Linked DNA regions of Homo sapiens: regions 1 and 2 are each linked to region 3. The links are contacts of gene promoters, found by promoter capture Hi-C in human tissues and cell types (Jung and others, 2019). All regions are on one chromosome and are shown on one strand. The core of a region is centred on a gene start or on the middle of the fragment in contact, and the rest is flanking DNA. Distances in the headings are between cores, read along the strand shown.

Region 1 (4,214 bases), core at 290-2,789, 37 kb after region 3:
AGGCTGGTCTTGAACTCCTGACCTCAAGTGATCCTCCTGCCTCGGCCTCCCAAAGTGCTGGGATTACAGGCGTGAGCCACCACGTTTGGCCGTCTCTGCTAACTTTAGAAAATCCTTTATTAGTGAAGACAGTTGTACATGCCTCTTTCTTGTCATTGTAAAGAGCTCTATTGTAAGACAAACAGTGTCCTAGGTAGATAAGCTTGAAAAGTCATTTGAGAGGAGGTTTCTGAGAGTCTTGAGTGTCAGATTCAAAAATTTGGAACTTGTGCAGAGAGGCACCATTACATGAGTGATAGCATCTCCCTTAATCTAAACATTTAATGTGTTTACTTTAAGGTTATGTAATGCAACCAGACTAGTGTAATGACTTATTATAAGAGGCATATAGTTTTTGAAGATTATCAACATGGAATGATATTTGATTACTTAGTGCATCCATTACATTAATGTAGTGAACTCCACTGTTCATCAACAACGTTGTCATAGACTTGGCTTTGCCGTAGCTATTGAAATTACATGAATATTTCATCACAGTCAAGGTAGTGCTGTGATAAATATTAAAAGAGGACAATGCTAAAAAATTACATCTGAAAGGATTATGTGGTTGAGAACACACCAAGAAAGGACACGAAGGTGGACATCCTCCACTTCTGATCTTTCTTTCTTGTCACTCCTCGGGGGCAGTTTGGAGGGCGGTGGCCAGGAAGGCCTGCGTTGTCACAGAGAATGTGCTAAGGGGATGACTTACTTGCTAATATTTGAGTAGTTCCTTTTGTCAAATAAAAAATGAATTCAGACTCAGGTAAGGAGAATCTTCATCTGAAAAGACTATTGTGGTAGAGGTAAGGGTATCATGTGACCATGATACCTGCGAGGGCCTCCCAGGTCTGTAAGAAAGGGCTTTTCTGTTATACGGAGGATTGCAGGAGTGAACAAGGCCGTGAGGGTGGGCAGAGCAGGAAGAAGGATGGGACAGTGAATCCGCATATCCGGAGGGTTTTCCCTGAGGTCTGTGGATCCTTAGGAGGCCCTTTAGGAGGGCTGTCCTGTTATTTGCTCAAGGGGGAGTCAAGGTCCTGATTAAAGTTTGGTCAAGTTGTTAGTGGGTATTTTGTCCAGGTTGGTCAATGGAAACAAACAGTTTGGCTAATAATTTATGAGATAAAGATTGAGTACATGGAAGGCCTGTGTCTGGCCTTGGAGGTAAATACGGTGTGCATCTGTGAGTCCCATCTAAGTCACACAGGGAAGACAAGTTCTTTGCAGTCAGCAGTTTCCTGGAAGACAAAAGGGTTTCAGGGGCTGGGGTGGGAGAAGATGTTAACTGTTGCTGTTTTCCAGGAGCATAAAGCCCAGGTCAAGTTCAACATTGCCCCTTTATACCAAAGGTCTGTTTCTGGGATTTCATGAGTCAATCAGCCAGTTCAAGTCCACAGTTCTTGAAGGCCTACATCGTGCTGGGCACTGAGTTAGGTACCAAAATAATAAACACACCAGGACCTTTATCCTGTAGGTCTGAATCTAGAGAGCAGCTTGAACCTGAGAAAACCCTGGGAGGCAGTCTTAGATGGGCCCAGAGACTGTTTGAGAGAACCTGAGGATCAGGATATTTGAATTCTGCACAGACTGGCTTGCTCCTTCTTCTCCATAGCGCCTCTTCCTCTTGTCGGTGACCTAACTGCAGATGGAGAGAAGGAGCCCACATTTTCAGTTCAGTCCTGTGGCATTATGCATTTCTCAATAGACAGTAGAACACCAGGTGTCACTTGCATTATTTTCAGAAAGTTATATAGGTTTGTTTCTGTGCCTAATCTGGCAATTGTTGACTTACGACTAAGTGTGTAAGTCTTCTTTACAACCCTGGTGAGCCTCTGACTAGTATGCAATGTTTATGTGGTTTCGATAGCTGCTCCAAGGCCAATCTGTGTTAACTTTGTTGATGTACAGAAGACTCATCAGTCAGTGTAAAATTTGGAGACTTGACTCTCAGTAGTTCCATGTAAATAAATGATGGAGTTGGAGTACATATTTTGGTCATGACACTTAGATTCTGATGTTGTAGGCCTCTTTAATTAAAGCGTTGAAGGGTTGTTCTCAGAATGACTGGACCAGGCCTTTACTTAAATGGGTGGATCAGAATATCTCAAATAACTGTTTTTATTTTAAACTCAAATGACCTTCCTGATACCAAACAAAAAACCTCAGTTGGTATTCAGAACTTGAAAAGTCACCGTTATCTTTACAAATATCCGAATATCTGATCCTGTAGATACAAAATACCTAGAGGATTACTTAAATTAGAAATACATACATAAATATGAGTATCTGGTTATTTTGTATTCATAGGAATTCATCAGAAACCTAGAAACTCCATCTTTAAAGTTTAATCATTCTAAAAAGTCTTAAAATCCTTTCAGCTGTGAAGTTCTTTATTAATATAAAGGACTATGAAACTTCATTCACGGCTCCCCTACCATTTTCCCTCTTAAGTCAGAACCTCAGAGGATTCAAGGGGACTCATGAAGTGGCCTGCAGAAGATCGTTTCTTTGAGATCTTGTGTTTTATCTTAAAAGAGACACATTGTTATTTGACTTTATAATCTATCCATGGTTGTTTACATCTAAAAGTAATATTTAAGTTGCTTCTCATCAAGAATAATTTAACCTACAAGGAGCCTCCTGGAAGGAGCCAGGTTTCTACTGTGCACGCTTTCGGTGCAGACTGGTGCCTGGCTACGGATTCCCCGAGGGTGTGACGGTGTCAGTTCAAGAAGCCTTGTCGACTTCAATTAAGTGGGGATTGGATGTCATGTGAGCACAGGAGAGAGGAAGTTGGGGGTGGCAGGAGAAGAACTGGATCAAGACTCTTGAGTTAAAGTCCCTACAGGGTCCCAGGCAGGGCGGGCCCTGAAGGTGGTATAGAGAATGGCCACGGCATCACAGATTTGGAGGGCCCTGGCCACTGGGTGGTGCATGCTTCTCCAGAAGGGGCAGCCTATTGTTGCCACGTGCCACGTGAGCCTAGTTTTGCCAGATGGTATAATTTTTTAAAAAGAAATTGGAAATCTAGGTTTTTATGAAAAGTCTTACATTGGTTCAGGACTTGGTTAGGAAAACAGAAGCCACTGTAGATAATCCATGTATAGAGGGTTTAAATAGAGGAGATTGCAGGCTATACCACTGTTGAAAGGGATGGGAAACGAAGGCCAGGGAAGTTCTCACAGACCCCAGAGATCTCCATCTGGGGGACCCAGGTGCGGCCAGAGTCCTGGGCTGGCGTCAGAGCCCTCTGACACTCCCAGGCTGGCTGTGGCAGCTGGCAGCCCCAGTGCTCCTGCTCCTGGGCCTGAAGAAGCATCTGTAGGCACTGAGGCAGGCACCTCCCTAGTGCTTGGGGAGGCTCCCTGTCTGTCCTCTGCCCTGTCTGCCCGGACGTCCATTTGCAGCTGCACTGAAGTATCTCAGCTTCTCCTCCGTTCCGAAGCCCTGCAGTGGCTCTCATGGTGGACTCTGACGCAGACCACATGGAGGGGAGCTTGCGGGGCACAGCATCCTGGCCTCACCTCGTGTGTGGAGCAGACCTCAGGAGAGGGTGGCAGTGACCCAGTGGACCACAGACAATCCAGCCTGATCCTATACTTCAAGTTTAAAACACTGTGCTGGTCAATACTGTGTGTTCCAAAGGAAACGCACACGTGGGCCAGAGCTGCCTGCCATCAGCTTGACGGAGGCAAGGCAGGAAGCACAAGACCCGGGGCGGGCGGGCCGGGGCGGGGAGGGGCGGAAAGGATGACGAGGCATCGCATCAGAGGCCACTGACTTGCTAGCCTGGCCTGGGGCTGCTCACCGGCTCCACCTGCTCCCCTGCCCACCACCGTCCACCTCTGAAGGAACCGTTATGTGGCAGCTCCCACTCCCCCGCTCTGCTGTGTCTTTGTTGTTTGAGGAAAGGCCCAGACACTTACCTCAGGTAAACAGGTGGACTGAGGTCACATGGGGACCCACGGGACTTGTGAGGAGTTAAGGCCGCAGCGCCCATGCTGAAGCCCTGTCAGCCAGAATGCGGGGGAGGCCCAACTCCCAGGGTGGGATGATCTTTCTACTGTCTTCTTAAATAAAACGATATTTCTGGAAAAGAAAGAACAGAATTGAGATTTACCTTTTAAGACATCTTCTGTGTATGTTTATTAGAAAAATGAGGAGGCTTGCAC
Region 2 (3,763 bases), core at 429-2,928, 42 kb before region 3:
CCAGGCGCGGTGGTTCACGCCTGTAATCCCAGCACTTCGGGAGACCGAGACGGGCGGATCACGAGGTCAGGAAATCGAGACCATCCTGGCTAACACGGTGAAACCCCGTCTCTACTAAAAATACAATAAAAAAAAAATTAGCCGGGCGTGGTGGCGGGCGCCTGTAGTCCCAGCTACTCGGGAGGCTGAGGCAGGAGGATGGCGTGAACCCGGGAGGCAGAGCTTGCAGTGAGCCGAGATCCTGCCACTGCACTCCAGCCTGGGTGACAGAGCGAGACTCCATCTCAAAAAAAAAAAAAAAAAAAAAAGGAAGGAAAAAGATACAGCATGCTACCTGTAATAAGCAAATACAATCAACCAACTGGATCTAAATAACATGTATAGAGAAACATGCCACTGCAAAACAACAGAATGTACATTTTTAAAGCATCCATGACACATTCATCAGGATAGCCTATATCCTGGGACATAAAACAAAATTCATTAACTCAAATGAGTGTTAATGACTACCTGGAAGTGAAAGAGTACTAGCCTAGATATAGCAGTATGGAGGCAGGAAAACATTCTGCACCCACTGTACTGTGGTTCAAGTGGATAAGGCAAGTGAATGGGAAGGGATTTCCTGAAAACCATAACGTGGTTGGGGAGTTGGCTTACATCGACAGCTCCAGAATGAAACTGGAAAGATGTGAGAGGAATGGGAGTTCGAACATGTAAACCCAGGACAGTGCAGTAGGTGGGGGATGAGGGTCTGGAAAGGATGGGGGTGAGTGGGTGGGTGAGAAGCCCAAGAAGTGGCTGACTTTAGATACCTTAACTGTAAGCCCAGGATTCTTTGGGGACAGGAATGACTCAAGGTCTCAGGCTGTTTCTGGCCTGATACTAAAAGAAGGGTGAGATGGTATGAAATTTACGGAGGGTTTCTGTGGTCAGTTATGGGATGACTGTTTCAGGGAGCTTGGGCCACCCAAAGAGCAAAGCTTCTGGGGAATAAGAGTCTGAGGTGTGTCCATGTAGCTGCTTCTTAAACATCCCTCCACACATAGGAAGTTCCCACAAAAGACACTTGCCGTGATTGTCCATTACATACCAAGGTGGAATCTTCCCAAAACAAAGACACTTATTTTTAATACAATCCCCATTAGAATTGTTCATGCTCAGGGAACAGTTATGAAACAAAATTGAGATATAGCATAAATTTTGGCAAAATAATGTTTTAAAAATTATTTTACCCATCAAAATTATTATATATATATAGTAATTATAGAAATGTATTTAAAAATGATCTCTATTTAGAGATGTTTACCATGTATATATTCAATTTGGAGGTTTCAGATCAATCATATGCTCTTTAAAATTAAGTGACCATAAAACTAACTTTATGGCACCCTGGGCATAATGGGTACAGAACTTCCGATAACACTGATTAACAGTCTACAGAAATTTATAGACAAACTTTTCGGACAAGCCAGTACTGCCGAGGCTTGAGAGTTCTAAAGTTGCTATGAAATCTTCCTTAAACAATTGACAGCAGCTGCAAAGCATTTTCTTTAGCTTTATGCAGAGTATTCACGATTGCTGACAAGGCTCCTATTTGGCTTTTTTATCCCTTTAACCGCCTAGAATTACTGAAACTGAACTTGTGAGTTCTAACACTAAAAGCCTCTTTATTTTCTTGATCTTATAATGTAATATTCTTTCCTCCCAAGAAAGATGAGCTAAGCAGTGGCTTTCTTTTATAATTACGTTTTCAAAGCAAACATTTTAAAAGTAGATGTTGCATGGGAAACAAGCCTCCTGACTATTTTCCTAAATAGCTTAGGACTTCCTACAGAGCCTGCATTTTCAGTCTCAAGGATGATGGCCCTCCCAATGATTCTCTCTTCCCTTTAAACACACAGTCCTCCTGAGCTGAGGTGCCTGGGCAGCAAGAACTCGGGGATCCCTCAGACCTCAGTTCAGTTCCTGCCCCATCTCCCAAACTGCCAAGAGGATTTGCACATGGACAGGCAAAAAAGTCAACTCTCTTTCCCTCCTTAAATCTGCCAGCAGTTTGGACCTTTTTTATAAACATATGGTATGTTTTTCCCAAAGGCAAATCTAAAGTCATCACTATTTTTCTTACTTTCTTGCTTGAATTCGGGTATCTAGAGCAATTATGAAGTTGTGTGTGTGTGTGTGTGTGTGTGTGTGGTGTGTGTGTGTGTCTGTGTCTGTGTGCATGTATAGCATAACACACTTTATAGGTTAACTTCCAAGAGAGAAAAGTAACCATCAAATTATCAAATATATACACACATGTGTATATGTATACATACATAATCATATTATATATATACATATAGTAAACATTTTCTTTTCATCAGTGGAATAATCCTTTGAAAGACGACACTTTGCTGCCCCAGCAGAAGGAATGCATAGTGCTGGAAACATGGTATAACCTCAACGAATAATCTCTAATATTTATTTTTTGTGGAAGCTATAAATCTGTTGGTAGAAACTGCCCCTGTATGGCCAAGGAGTTTTTTCTTATTTAAAATGCTTAAACTTGTGTTCTCTACTGGTTTGATTATAGAAGATCACCATTTAGGATAAAAAGAGTCGCACCCATGGTATTCTTCCATTCCTACCCTCTGATATAGACACCCATTTTGTTTCAGTAATGTATTAATTACAAATGTAGTCTTCCTCTGGCCATAGTCAAATCTCACTAATCTAATCTTAATTTATCAAAATATGAGTTTTTTTAAAAAAAGAAAAAGTTTAGAGAACACGAAGTTCCACTGTGATATTCCGATGTGATTCATGGGTGTGTAGAATGAGAAAGAATTCTAAATGCATTCTTAAAAGATAAGCCCTTGTGAAGATTTGTGGGCCTTGAGGAAAAAAGATGAAGCCCTTTCAGAGAGTCTTCTAAAATTATGCTTAGTGGATTTACTAAATCCTTAAAATTATGACATTGAGTTACCACAAATTATTTTGGAATAAAAATTGATATAAATAAATATTACTATACTGTGACATTTTAAGCTTAAAACCTTTTTCTCACATGAACATGACGAAAAGCAGAAACTTGACAAGCCAAAATTATCTGCCATCATTGCTAATGCTGTATAAGAGCAAAGCTAGTGATTTTGCCAATTTATCATTCGCTATGAAATAGCTGGATTTTCTTCCACTAAATGATGTCCTTTCTGGTTAGAAACTGAAAAGTATTCTATCATGTCCCTGCTATATTTTGAACTTTGCCATACTAAGTAAACTTGAGCTCCCTAATACCTGTAAAATCCCTTTTTTTCTGACCCAATTTTCCTCCTCATTTCCAAGTAGGAATAAAGTCAAATCTTACAGGCTTAGATGAAGTTCGATAATTGCCAAATTCTCTGTGTGTTGTTTTGTAGAAAAAGAGCCACTCCCTATGGCAAACAGTGAGCAACTCAATCTACCTGTAAACAACTTCACGCATCATGCAGAAGACAGGGATTTTAGATGAAATGACCATCCAGGCCTATGTGTGGGACGCATATACTGGATTTAATAGGCTCCAGTATTCAGTCAGCTCCCTAGCACAATAAGCACTTGATAAATATTTCTTGATTATATCAGCTGCTACTAATTACAGGCTGTTTGAGAGCTTGGGCATTATCTTTTTTTGATTATTGCTATATCCTTGTTACCTGAAATAGTGCCTGGCACATAGCAGGTGATCAGTAAAGATTTATTGGTTGATGAACTATTTGGCGAATGTATAAACTGCTGGCCA
Region 3 (3,929 bases), core at 1,398-3,897:
TTCTTGTTTTTCAACAACAATAATAACAACAATAATAGGAATAATAGCAGCCAATATTCATTGAATGATTACTATGCACCAGGCATTTCTCTAAGAACTCTATAAACTGTCTCTATCTGTGTAGACTCCATATTGGGTAGGTTTTACTGCTTTCCTTAACTTACAGATGAAGAAGCTGAGGCACTAAAAGTCTCAATAATGATCAAAAGAAGTCATTGTTTGTCATTGTGGATGCAGAGAGGCATAGGGTGTCTGGTGCTTAATTCATTACCGGGGTAAACTGGTGATTATACACATCAGGTACCCATGAAATATCAAAATAATATGTCCATGAGTATTTTACATGTTTGATTTCTCCCCAAAGCATTTTTAAACTCACATACTCTTTCAAATTTTAGACAAGATTCTGGCAAACTTTGGAATAAAGTTTGCCAGGCAAGCAGAGCTCCCGAACAGTGATCAATACCCTCATGGGCTGGTGAGTCCTTAAAAACTAACCTGTCTAGACACCAGATACTGCTTCTATGAGAGCAGGGAAAATTGAGGGTTAAACAGCCCTTGTAAAAACAATGCCACTGCTATGGATATGTATGCTCAAGTCAAGTCCATTGTGAAAGAAAATACAGCTTCAGAAAGGTGGATGAGGTTTGGAGATGCTGGTTTTGAAAGCCAATGGACTATTTTCTGAGTCTGATATGAAAATGAGGACAGCGGTCTTCACCCCTGACTGCATACTTAAGAATCACTTGAGAGCTTTAAGAAAAATACAGGTGTGGGGGCCCCATCGCAGACCAATTAAATCAGGATTTCAGGGAGTGTGGAGACTGAGCGTTTTTCAAAAGCTCCCCAGGTGACTGCAACATGTAGCCAGCATGGAGAAGCCTATTTCAGATGTAGTCTAGACCGCTGAAACTTCCCCTTGAGTACATACGTTGGAAGTCTCAGAACTGGGATGTAGTTGTTAAAATCTCTAACGCCCCAGCAGCCAAGTTGGTACACACTGTGGCAGAGAAAGCTCGAAGTTTATTTGGTAAGACCACCCACCTGCTGGGAATCTTGTGCCTCCCAGCTTATGTTATTTTGAAAGAGAATTATTGTGAAAAAGTCTAGACAGTTGTTAGTATGGGAAGCCTATCAAGAACATAAGAAAGTATTCAGAGAATACAGAATTCATGTGATGACACAGTATTATTTAAAATTCAGGAGTCCTTCACCTATTAGCTCCCAAGAATGAGTCGTACATGGGGTGAGGTGGGGAGGGCATGGATGTGAAGGCAGACTTATGAACATCAAAATTAGTGGTAGATTTATATCAGGCTTCTACAAACAGGCTACACAAACCATTTCTTGATAGCATTTCTTGGTGACTGGATGCTAATTTAAGTTCTATCGTCTCCTGTAGGTCTGCTGTTGAGCTCATGACTACGCCCGGGTTTAGGTGCTATCTAAGCTTCTTGAGGATGGCAGAGCACATGGGTGGTTTAAGTTTCAGGGTGTCTTCACCATATGCCAACTGTCTTGAGTCTTCATTCAAAAAGCAATGGTTCATAGTTTTTCTGTAATTCTCAGAGAATTCGTGAAGGCACCTGAGCTCAAACCACAAGCTTACCCTGTCTCAAAAAAGGGATGTCCACAAAAGCGTTTCAAATGGCTAAAAAGACGGGGGTTTGCCTGTTTTTCATCAGCTCACTGCTCTATCCCCTCCAACTAATGCAAGCCAGGAATGTAGGTGCGGAAGGGAAGCCAGGTCCTTCCCAGTGTGTCCTCCTGATGGAATGCCAGTCCTGAACAGTCCTCTCTACAGATGCTAACAGCCTCTTCCTCCATGTCCGGAAAGACCCCTACTGTGCTCTAGCAAATCTCCTCCACTCTCGGATAACAGTTAAATAAAAGACCCAGGCACACTGCAGTCTCCCAGCTAGAGCCAGATTTCTCTAGATCTTGCCTAGAACAGGCAAAAAGCAGTGCACTAGGAGAAAGGGAGAATATTCTCAGTGCCAACGCTCTCTTTCCCCAGAGCCACGACAAGCAAGGAGCAAAACTGAGGTGAAAACGGAGAGTTCCCCCAAATGCACAAAGTGGGTGCATTATCTGTTGGGGAAGACCCGGGATTTCCCAGAGTCTATTCAGAATGGCAAGTTCTTGCTATGTGAAATATGGGCAGGGTCAACGGTGTAGATGAATTCAGCTCTATTCTTCTTAATGCCAGTGTGCACCTGTGGACCCAGCAGAAGTCGGGGTCGCACAGGACTCTCCAAGCCCCTGGCTTCTCTCCTGCCGGGCCTGTGCGTTTCCCTCGGACCTTAAACGGTTCCCTGGGTTTGGGCAAGCTCAGGGCCCGGCCGGGTGGACTGGATGCCAGGGTGCACCACCGGAATGACAGAACCACGCAGAGCCGCGGGGCTGCGGGAGCCAGTGGGGCAGGAGTGCCCGCGGAGGGCGAGCCAAGGCGCGCAGCCCACTGGCAGGCCAGGCCGGGTCTCTCCCAGGCGCGGGAGCCGCGGGTGGGGGCTTGCCCTCCGCGCCGGTGCAAGGCTCTCACTTCCCCAGCCGCTCAGGGGCGGGCTCCGCGCGCGCAGGCCCCGGAGCCGCCATCCCATTGGCCGGGGGACACGCCCGTCCCCGAGTGAGGGCTTCGAAAGTTTCATTGAAGGTGGAGAAGCGCGCGCCGCCGGGGAGCCCCGGCTGCGCCGCGAGGGCGAGGCTGCAAGGCGGCAGGCGGTGGTCGCGCTGGGCGACGGGACGGCGCTGGTTTTTCTCTTGAGTTTTAAATTGAGGCGGTGGAGGAGGGAGTGGGAGACCCACTCACCCGATATGCGCTCTGGTCTCCATTTCTCCCCACGCTCGCGCCGTTCCTTCGAGTGAGGGAGGGACTCGCAGCGCCGCCCGCGCACCGGACCCACAAGGCGAGCCCCGTGGTGGCGGGGATGGTTCTGCGCGCCTGGCAGCTCCCACCCCGGTCTCTCCGGCCCGAAGCTGGGGGGCGCAGGGGCTGAGCTGCGCTGCCTCTCGGGGATCCGCCGCGGGCCGCCTGGGGGCTGGAGGGCGAGACCCGGAGCCCGCCGGGCAGCTCCGAGAGCCGGGGCCGAGGCCAGAGCGCGGCAGCCTGCGTGGGCAGCGGAGACGAGGCCGGGCAAAGGAGACGCGGTGGCTTCAGAGGGGCTTCCAAGTAGAAAACTCCCCGGCCGCCCCCAAACGACGCCCCGGGAGCCAGGCGGGAGCACAGCACGCCCTTCTTGCCCCCTTTGCTCGCCGCGCCGCCTCCCAGGACCCTCCCAAAGCGTCCCTCTCCAAGGCCCCGGCATCAGCTACCCCTGAAGAAGCCGCCGCCGCTGCCGGATCCAGGATTCACACTAAATGGGCCGGCCGCAGGGGGCCGGGCGCCGGGCTAGGTGGCCGCCAAGAGCCTGGTGAGGGGCTACCCAGAGCCCGGTGGGCGAGGGGCGGCCAAGAGCCCCGGGAGCGTGCCCTCGGGGCGGAGAGCGTCGCGGCCCGCGCCGAGGCGATGCTCGGGTGGCTGCGAGCTGCCGGCGGCGAGAGGCCATAGACGGGCATGGGCCTTGCGTCCCACCACCCCTAGGGACCCTCGAGCCTCGCCCCTCTGCTCCGACTCGCCGGACCGACGCGATGGCCTCAGAAGTGGTGTGCGGGCTCATCTTCAGGCTGCTGCTGCCCATCTGCCTGGCAGTAGGTGAGTCTGGTCCGCTTTCCGAGGGCACTTGAGGAGGACGAGGGGGGCGCCTGGGTGGGGGACTTCTTAACAAAGTGAAGGGCTCTGGTGCTCTGGGGTTCGATTCGGGAGGCCAGCGGCGTCAGACGCGCGCTGTCCCTGGTGCACAGCCTGGCTCTCTCACTTCCCACTCTGGGGCGCGCGATCGGGGTATCTCTTAACAGGATGCTCGGGACGGGCATGTGCTGGAAACTGTTTA

The links. The method cuts DNA at HindIII sites, captures the fragments that hold promoters and counts their contacts. A contact is called where the count stands out against the background at its distance.
Region 1: a contact is called between a fragment that was not itself captured here and the fragment with the promoter of PIEZO2 in region 3, in 3 of the 25 tissues and cell types used here (IMR-90 fibroblasts, hippocampus and lymphoblastoid cells).
Region 2: a contact is called between a fragment that was not itself captured here and the fragment with the promoter of PIEZO2 in region 3, in 3 of the 25 tissues and cell types used here (dorsolateral prefrontal cortex, ovary and spleen).

What each region holds. Positions count from the first base shown.
Region 1 is chr18:11,110,261-11,114,474 of GRCh38, reverse strand. The region is part of intron 1 of PIEZO2 (piezo type mechanosensitive ion channel component 2); the gene reads left to right. Among named protein-coding and RNA genes, the nearest start is that of PIEZO2, 37 kb to the left of the region's middle. The HindIII fragment of the contact is 4,299 bases long and covers 1-3,688 here.
Region 2 is chr18:11,189,455-11,193,217 of GRCh38, reverse strand. No RefSeq gene overlaps it. Among named protein-coding and RNA genes, the nearest start is that of PIEZO2, 42 kb to the right of the region's middle. The HindIII fragment of the contact is 4,777 bases long and covers 1-3,763 here.
Region 3 is chr18:11,148,287-11,152,215 of GRCh38, reverse strand. It overlaps PIEZO2 (piezo type mechanosensitive ion channel component 2), which reads left to right and starts at 2,647. Exons shown (of 56, transcript NM_001378183.1): 1 at 2,647-3,691. The coding sequence starts at 3,628. LOC124904249 (a long non-coding RNA gene) reads left to right here and starts at 3,700. Exons shown (of 2, transcript XR_007066288.1): 1 at 3,700-3,929. RefSeq lists silencers at 2,295-2,744, 2,985-3,264, 3,285-3,464, 3,475-3,544 and an enhancer at 3,238-3,929. The HindIII fragment of the contact is 6,242 bases long and covers 1-3,929 here.